2 separate regions of the Homo sapiens genome follow, and region 2 is linked to region 1. Evidence: promoter capture Hi-C in 16 types of primary human blood cells and fetal thymus (Javierre and others, 2016). All regions are on one chromosome and are shown on one strand. Each heading gives the region's core, a stretch centred on a gene start or on the middle of the fragment in contact. The rest is flanking DNA. Distances are from core to core; before and after follow the strand shown.

Region 1 (4,440 bases), core at 793-3,292:
TGTCCCTTGCCCTCATCTCTGCCATATGTCCAATGTCCCTTGCCCTGCACCTCCATTTCCTCTCTGTCTCTGTGCTTCTATGTCTCATGTTTTGTGTCTCTCTATGTGCTGTGTCCTGAGGCTTGGGTCCCTGCCCTGGTGTCCTATGTCTGAGTCCCAGGGTCTCCTATTCCCCGTGCCTCAGTCTGTCCTGTGTCTGCACTGCATGTCCTCTGCTTCCAAGTCCCATCTCTTTTTTTTTTTTTTTTTTTTTTTTTTAAGATGCAGTCTCGCTCTGTCGCCCAGGCTGGAGTGCAGTGGCATGGTCTTGGCTCACTGCAACATCCACCTCCTGGGTTCAAATGATTCTCCTGCCTCAGCCTCCCAAGTAACTGGGATTACAGGTGCCCGCCACCATGTCTGGCTAATTTTTGTAATTTTAGTAGAGATGGGGTTTTGCCATGTTGGCCAGGCTGGTCTCGAACTCCTGACCTCAGGTGATCTGCCCGCCTCGGCCTCCCAAAGTGCTGGGATTACAGGCATGGGATTACACGCCCGGCCTCCAAATCCCATCTCTTACGTATCACATTGCCATACTCTTTATGCCCCCACCTATGTCCCCATACCCAAGATTCACCCCAGTGTCCCTGTGTCCTGTGTCCTTGGGTCTGCCCCATCCATATCCCAATGTCCTTCACCCTCCATGACCCCTGTCTTGAGACTGCCTTTCGTGTTCGTCTATCCCCATCCTTCTCTGCCCCTCTTGTCCCAAGTCCCAGGCTCAGTGTCTTCCATCCCCAGGTCCCCATGTCCTGAGCCTGTCCCCACAACATGGCTCACATTGTCGTCGGTGGTGAGGTCCCCCTCACTAGCCTGGATGGCAAAGGCGATGAGGCAGATGGCGGCGGCAACCCACATGAGGCACTGCAGGCCCCCGGCCAGCTGCCTCGCGAACTTGACGTACTCTGGGGTGCCCCGTGGTGGCCGCAGTGCGTTGGGCCCATCCCGCAGCAGCAGCTCAGCAGCCAGGCTCGCAGAGAGGCCCTGGGACAGAGGGGCAGGGCGAGGCGGTCCTGGGGGCTTTCCTCCACATGCACACCCCGTGGAAAGCCCCCTGCTTCAGTTTCCCTTCTCCAGCTTGGTCTGTCCTGCTCCTTCTCATCTCTTTGTCTCTTGGTTCCTGCCCCCACCCCATCTCTCCCTCCCTCCTTCATCTCTCCCTTTGTCTCTCTCTCCTCGCTCCCCTTTCTATGTGTCTCTCTCCTGCTGCTCTCTCCTTATTTGTCTCTGCCTTCTCTGTCTTGCTGTCTCTTTTCAGCTACTCCTCTCTCCGTCTCTGTGTGTCACCCTTTCTCTCTAATGCTTTCTCCCTTCTCTCCCTCTCCCTCTCTCTCCCTCTCTCCATCTCCCTCCCTCTCTCCTCCCCTCCCTCCATCCTTTCCTCTCTCCCTCCCTCCCTCTTTCCTTTTCTGCCTCCCTCCCTCTCTCTATTTCTCCATATCTTCCTCTCTTCATCTCTCCCTCTCTCTCCCTCTCTCCATCTCCCTCCTTCCATCTCCCTCTCCCTCCCTCTCTCCTCCTCCCCTTTCTGTACGCTCCCAGTCTCCAGCTCACCTTGGTGGCACTGGTCTGGTATTTCTGTTCCAGCTCCGCCACTGACAGCTGGTGGTCGTTCTGTGTGGTGGGGTGGGGCAGGGTGCTTGCTCTGGGCTCTCCTGGCCCCCTCCCCGCCCACTGCCTGGTTCCCAGCCTACCCTCCAGCTCCCGCCCCTCCCCAGTCAGAGCTCACAATCTCCATCTCCTTCTTCATGTTCTCCAGCTTCTCCTTCCTCTTGCCACCCCCGCCACCCGCCTTCTTCTTCTTGCTCATCTTGGCAGCCATGTCCCCGCCAGGGCCAGGACCCAGCTCCACCGAGTAGAGCTCATAGTTCTCCTGGGAATGGACAGGATGGAGGGAGGGAGAACTCAGATTCCACTGCAACCCCTGTCCCCACTGCACCCCGGACCCCTGGGCCCCACTCACGGCCTTCCCCATGGTGCCCGGTGCCTGTGCTCCCACCCAACAGAGCCTGGGCCCGGACCAGTCCTGATATACCCAGGGAGGGCGGTGGGGTGGAGCAGAACCGCCCGACCACAGCTGATTACAGGCTCCTTGGGGTGACCTCTAGGCCTGGGCACCTCAGGCATTCCCTCCTGGGCTGGCCCCCCCCTCCCCTGCCCAGATCCCCCCATGTCAACCTGCCCTGAGATCAGGGAGCCCCTGGGAACCGCTGCAGCAACAAGAAGAGCAAACATAAGGTGCTCATTATGCGCTGGGCATTGTGCTGACGGCTTCCATGTGCTAACTTATTTAACCTTCCAATAACCCTTTGAGGGGACAAGACCCTTTACAGATGGGGAAACTGAGGCATGGAGGGGTTGAGTCATTCTCCTATGGCTCCATCACAGGCTAGGACATAATGGAGTGAGAACCAGATCAGCTGGCTGCAGAGTGTCCTCTTTCAGTCTAAATAGCACGTGCCTGATCAACTGGAAGAGGAGGGTGCTCCCACACTCTTTTTTTTTTTCTTTTTTTTTTTGAGATGGAGTGTCACTCTGACACCCAGGTTGGAGTGCAGTGGTGCAATCTCAGCTCGCTGCAACCTCCGCCTCCCGGGTTCAAGTGATTCTCCTGCCTCAGCCTCTTGAGTAGCTGGGACTACAGGCACATGCCACCACACCCAGCTAATTTTTGTACTTTTAGTAGAGACGGGGTTTCACCAGGTTGGCCAGGCTGGTCTCGAACTCCTGACCTCAGGTGATCCACCCGCCTTGGCCTCCCAAAGTGCTGGGATTACAGGCGTGAGCCACCATGCCCTGCCATGCTTACAACACTCTCTATGGTGGCTGAATGTTTACTGAACTCTGACTATTCACTATGGGCTGGGTGTGCTCTGTGTGTCACTCAAATGGTTTCCTTAGCATCTAACAGCAGCCCTGTAAAGCAATATTCTCTTCTTAGCCCCCATCAGGGACTTTGCAGAAGATTTCAACGTCTAAGAATTAGGGACAGGGTTCCAGCCCGGGCTTGACCCCAGGGCTTGACCCCAGAGCCTAGCTCTTCTATGGCACCACCAATGGAAAAACCCAAACTTCACTGCAGCAGCACCACACACATGCCAGGCTCTGCACGTGTGACCTCACGGGTCTTTGCAAAAAACCCTGTGCAGGCAGAACTATCATTCCTGTTGTGCAGAGGGGGAAACTGAGGCTCACAGGGACTCACATATCCAGCTACAGACTTTACAGCTCTCAACCATTCCCCGTCCCTACCCTAGATGGGGAAACCAAGGTGCAACATGGGGAAAGGATGTGTCCAAGGGTCTTGGCTTGATCTTGGTGTTGGGTGACAGATGCCAGGAGGCCTGGGGACTCCCTCCTCATCCCTCAGGTAGGGACCTCCATGGGCAGCAGCAGCGAGGGGCTGGGCCAGTGGAATGGTGGGGACCTTGGTATGTTATGGGGTGAGCGTGTCTCCAGGAGCAGGTGAGCGTGCGCCTGATAAGATAACTGCCCTGGCAATGTCCTTCTCTACTGGGGCAGGTCACCTGGGAAACTCAAAGCTGTTGGGCAGCCAGAGCTCCTCCCCGCACCCACACGGCTGGTCATCCCCAGCCTGCTAGAAGAAACCTCCAAAGAAGAGGTGGCGTGGGGCCACATGCTGTCCTTGTAGTGAATCTACTCGCTCACTGGGCTCCCATCAGCTCTGAGCCATGTATGTCAAACAGCTTGTGTCACCCCCTGCTTACAACCCTCCAAAGCCTTCCCTTCCCACTCAGAATAAACTCTGCACTCCTTCCTGCAACATCTGGCCCTGGTCACCTGTCCTGCCTCTGTTGCTGCTAGGTTTCCAGGGGCACTGACCTCTCTGCTGCACTTTGCACAGACCAAGGTCGTTCCTGCTTCAGGACCTTGGTACTTACAGTTCCTTCTGCCTGGGCCCCCTTCCTTAGATGTCTGCACTGGCTTTCTCACCTCTTTCAGGTCTCAGCTCAAATGTCACCTCTTCAGAGAGTCCATTCTGTAATACTGCACACTGTGTTCTGTTCCTTTACCCCACTGTATTTACACCTCCTACTCCAACCTGACACTGTGTTTTCTTTTTATTTGTTTGGTGTTCATTAGAAGGAGGACTGGGCCGGACACTGTGACTCACATCTGTAATCCCAGCACTCTGGAAGGCTGAGGTGGACGGATCATGAGGTCAGGAGTTCGAGACCAGCCTGGTCAACATGGTGAAACCCTGTCTCTACTAAAAATACAAAAATTAGCTGGATGTGGTGGTGTGTGCCTGTAATCCCAGCTACCAGGGAGGCCGAGGCAGGAGAATCACTTGAACCTGGGAGGTGAAAGTTGCAGTGAGCCGAGATCATGCCACTGCACTCCAGCCTGGGTGACAGAGTGAGACTCTGTCTCAAAAAA
Region 2 (4,440 bases), core at 1,501-4,000, 100 kb after region 1:
CAAAAAAAAAGACAGTATTCTTTAGCATTAGTTCCGCTAATGATTGGACAAAGATTTCCTTAGCCTCCAAAAACCAATAATCTCCTAGCCTTTGCTGAGGCATGGTGGGCCATGCTTTCGACATTCAGCCAGGCAATTGACAACTCTGCCTTCGCCACTACTTCTCCCAGGAAGGCACACATCCTCAAGGTCAGCCCAATGTAAGAAGACTGGGTTCTCATCTCTGGTCTTTCTTGAGCCTGCATATACTCCTGGGCATGCACACAACCCTATGCATGCATGTGACCTTCTAGATTTCCAAGAATATTTTGGAGTTTTTCAAAGCCTTCTCATTCCCCAGCTTTATCTTTTAAACTGTTTCATTAGCCTATTATTGGCCTCAACTGTTATTCATTGCTTAGGCAGCTGCCTAGTTAAACAATTGCATGCAATTGTGTTTCACAAATGCCCCTGGGGAAATAATTTTGACGATGTATGAGCTCTAAGTTAGGTCAAATACAGACAACATTGCAAGTAGGGGCTTCCAGGGAACCATAAGACGAATCAAATAATTCTGACTTTCTGGGAGTGAGGCTTTTATGGAGTTTCATCCTCTTCTGCCCCGTTTGGTGTATGCCAGGCTGCTAGTTTCCACTGAGAATGCTGGCAGTTAATATTCAAGGCTACCATGGAGCTGGAATGGGGGAATGGAACTAGGCCAATTAAAAATGTCACAAAGTATAAAAATTAGCCGGGCGTGGTGGCGGGCGCCTGTAATCCTAGCTACTCGGGAGGCTGAGGCAGGAGAATTGCTTGAACCTGGGAGGCAGAGGTTGCAGTGAACTGAGATCGTGCCACTGCATTCCAGCCTGGGCGACAGTGAGACTCTGTCTCAAGAAAACAAAAATAAAAATAAATTTTAAAAAAGTCATAAAGTTCACTGCTCTTACTAAGATTCAGCTGCTTTTCTTGAATAAACACTTTACAGATTTTTGTTGTTGTTGTGGAGACAGAGTCTCACTCTGTCACCCAGGCTGGAGAGCAATGGCACGACCTCAGCTCACTGCAACCTCTGCCTTCGAGGTTCAAGCGATTAGCTCCTGCCTCAGCCTCCTGAGTAGCTGGGATTACAGGCACTTGCCACCACGACTGGCTAATTTTGTATTTTTAGTAGAGATAGGGTTTCACCATGTTAGTCAGCCTGACCTCAGGTGATCCCCCCACCCTGGCCTCCCAAAGTGCTGGGATTACAGGCGTGAGCCACCACGACTGGCCAAAAAAACTATTTTAAAATCTAAAGTGGGTTGACTAAAACCAAATTAACCATTTTAATCGGAAAACATCTCATGTATCTTATTACCAAACCAGTGCCTTGACGATGGGATTTTCAGTGTCATTTGCCAAATTCGCAGGCACCGCAGTGGGGAGCCACTGCTCCCACAGCAGAGGCAATACACGGCCTAGCCTTGGGGTTGAGAAGTTCTGGGGACGGTGTCGGGGGCCCTGGGCCACCATTTTTGCATGGAGCCAGCCCTGCGCTGCGAGGGCGTGGCATCGGAGAGACCGTGGCCTCGTGGGCAGCATCGGCGGCCCCTGGGGACACGCGCTGGCTCAGTCCCCACCTCCGCCAGGGAAGCGGTCTGATGATACCCATTTCGCAGATGGGCAAATCCACAAGCCAAGTCGTGCCGCCCAGAAGAGGCAGAACCGGGATTTGAACCTAGGTTTCTCATTCTGCACCTGAAGAAATAAATGTCTGGTCCATGCGTGTGTTGGGGGGCGACGGGGACTTTTCTTCAACCAAGCCCGGTGTGCCCCCTCTCATTTTCTAGCACGTTCTTCTCCCCCATCTTTGCACTTATCTCAGACTCCCCTCACACACCTATCCTGGGTGCCATCCTTTCCCTCAGCCCACCGCCCATGTAGTCAGCCTCCTAAGCGCCCCTTCCACCTGTCCCCTCATCTCCCCACTGCTCTGCCTCGGTCCAGCCCTGGCCTTGGCAGGGGTCCCTGCCTGGGCCTCCCCACGGGCTCCCGGCCTCACAGAGGAGCAGCCACCTGTGCAAGGTCACACAGCAGGAGAGACACTTCTGGGATTCAGGACCCACCTGTGGGTCCGAAGTGGATTTTTTGTTTGTTTGGTTTTGGAGACAGGGCCTGGCTCTGTCACTCAAGCTGGAGTGCAATGGCACGATCTTGGCTCACTGCAACCTCTGTCCCCAGGTTCAGCCATCCTCCCACCTCAGCCTCCCAAGTAGCTGGGACCACAGGCATGAGCCTGGCTAATTATTTTTGTATTTTTTATAGAAACGGGGTTTCACTATGTCACCCAGTCTGGTCTCAAACTACTGAGCTCAAGCGATCCGCCTACCTCAGTTTCCCAAAGTGCTGGGATTACAGGCCTGAGCTACCACGCCCCGCCCTGATTTGGATCTTGCTCCTATTCCCAGGAAGGCCCATGTCCTAGCAAGAGAGACACCAGGTGGTGCGCACGCCCCTCCACCTCCAACTCCTCCACCGCCAACAAAGCCTGGGACCCAGAGGCCATGGGTCCTACACAATCTGGTATTTCAGGTCTATAAATCATGGGGGTGGCAGGGAGCCCATCAAAGCTGTTCATCCAGCCTGGTCTGCCGGCTCAGCCTCTTGTCCACCCCACTGCCGTGCCCCAAAACACACACACACACACACACACCCTCCCTCCTTCCTGGGAGACTAGCCCAAGGAGGGGCCTGGGCGTATATAGGGAGCCACGGTGGGTGGGGCTGGCCAGAGAGGCTGCAGACAGAGAAGGTGAGGAGGGGGCCCTGGGAGTCTGGGTATGGCATGAGGGGTCTGAGGCTCAGGGAGGGGCAGTGCCAAGTTCAGGCCAGTGACTGCCCCACCGGAGCCCGGGTGTCCTCTTGTGCAAAATGCCTCCCCACCAGGGCTGTGGGTACATCAGTACCAGCCTGGGCCCCGCAGAGAGCTGGAGCAACCCCTCGAAGCCAGGGTGTGGCTCAGAGATGGGGGGTCCGGCTGGCCCTTTACGCTCCTGGCCTCATCCCTGCTCATGTGTCCCAGGATGATGGCGTCTGCGGCAGCAGCGGAGGCCGAGAAGGGATCTCCAGTTGTGGTGGGCCTGCTAGTTGTGGGCAATATCATTATTCTGGTGAGACTCGCCCCAGTGCTGGGAGCCGAGTGGTTGTGTGGTGGGGAGGGGACAGTCCTGAGCTCGGGGTGGGGGATGAGGGTCCAGAACTGTCTCTCGGGCAGACTCAGTGGTCAGCACAGCCTGGGTTGAAATCCCAGCTCTGCCTCTCCCCAGCTCTGTGACCTTAGCAAGCGACTGTCCCTCTCTGTGCCTTCTTTCCTCATCTATAGACTGTGTCCTCATTGTGTGGGCTGTTGTCATGTGGATTAATCCATGTGTGGCCCTCAGCTCAGAGAAAGTGCCCGACCAATGCTGGCTATCACCATCAGCATCACTATGGATATAAAGTGACAGCCTGGTGCACAGGAGGCCACAAGAAGGAAAAACAACAGTGTCTTTCAATTAACATTGGGTTTTGGTTTTGTGTTTTTTGTTTTGTTTTGTTTTGTTTTGTTTTGTTTTGTTTTGTTTTTGAGACGGAGTCTCACTCTGTTGCCCAGGCTGGAGTGCAGTGGCTGATCTCAGCTAACTGCAACCTCTAACTCCCGGGCTCAAGTGATTCTCCTGCCTCAGCCTCCAGAATAGCTGGGATTACAGGCGCACACCACCACGCCCGGCTAATTTTTTTTTTTTCAGACAGATTCTCCCTTTGTCACCCAGGCTGAAGTGCAGTGGCGAGATCTCGGCTCACTGCATCCTCCACCTCCTGGGCTCCAGCAATTCTCCTGCCTCAGCTTCCCGAGCAGCTGGGATTACAGGCACATGCTACCACACCCGGCTACTTTTTGTATTTTTAGAAGAGATGGGGTTTCACCATGTTGGCCAGGCTGGTCTTGAACTCCTGACCTGAGGTGATCTGCCCACCTCAGCCTCCCAAAGTGTTGGGATTACAGGTGTAAGCCACCGCGACTGGCCGTGTGTTTGTTTTAGAGACAGGGTCTCACTCTGTTGACCAGGCTGCAGTGCAGTGGTGTGATGCTTGCTCACTGCAGCCTCCAACTCCTGGGCTCAACTGATCCTCCTGCCTCAGCCTCCCAAGTAGCTGGGACTACAGGTGCACATCACCACATCTAGCTAATTTTTTTATTTTTTGTAGAGACGGGGTCTCACTATTGCCCAGGCTAGTCTCAAACTCCTGGGCTCAAGCAATCCTCCCGCCTCGGCCTCCCACAATGCTGGGACTGCAGGTGTGAGCCACCTTGCCTGGCCCATTTGTAATGTTTATGGCCATGGCCATGTTCCCCTCCTCGGGGAATAACAGCACTGTCAAGGGAGGGCAGATGGACCAAGCATCTCCTCTGTGCCAGTCCACTGCTCCAGCCTTTCCA

What was found. The method cuts DNA at HindIII sites, captures the fragments that hold promoters and counts their contacts. A CHiCAGO score of 5 or more calls a contact.
Region 2: a contact is called between the fragment with the promoter of UPK1A here and the fragment with the promoter of ATP4A in region 1, in 3 of 17 cell types (erythroblasts, megakaryocytes and M1 macrophages). The highest score is 6.0, in erythroblasts.

The regions. Positions count from the first base shown.
Region 1 is chr19:35,561,616-35,566,055 of GRCh38, forward strand. ATP4A (ATPase H+/K+ transporting subunit alpha) reads right to left here and starts at 2,043. Exons shown (of 22, transcript NM_000704.3): 1 at 2,003-2,043; 2 at 1,769-1,912; 3 at 1,594-1,653; 4 at 820-1,023. The coding sequence starts at 2,014. RefSeq lists an enhancer at 3,198-3,699. The HindIII fragment of the contact is 9,853 bases long and covers 1-4,440 here.
Region 2 is chr19:35,663,767-35,668,206 of GRCh38, forward strand. UPK1A (uroplakin 1A) reads left to right here and starts at 2,751. Exons shown (of 8, transcript NM_007000.4): 1 at 2,751-2,772; 2 at 3,043-3,130. The coding sequence starts at 3,047. It overlaps UPK1A-AS1 (UPK1A antisense RNA 1), which reads right to left. Exons shown (of 2, transcript NR_046420.1): 2 at 4,182-4,440. The HindIII fragment of the contact is 14,723 bases long and covers 1-4,440 here.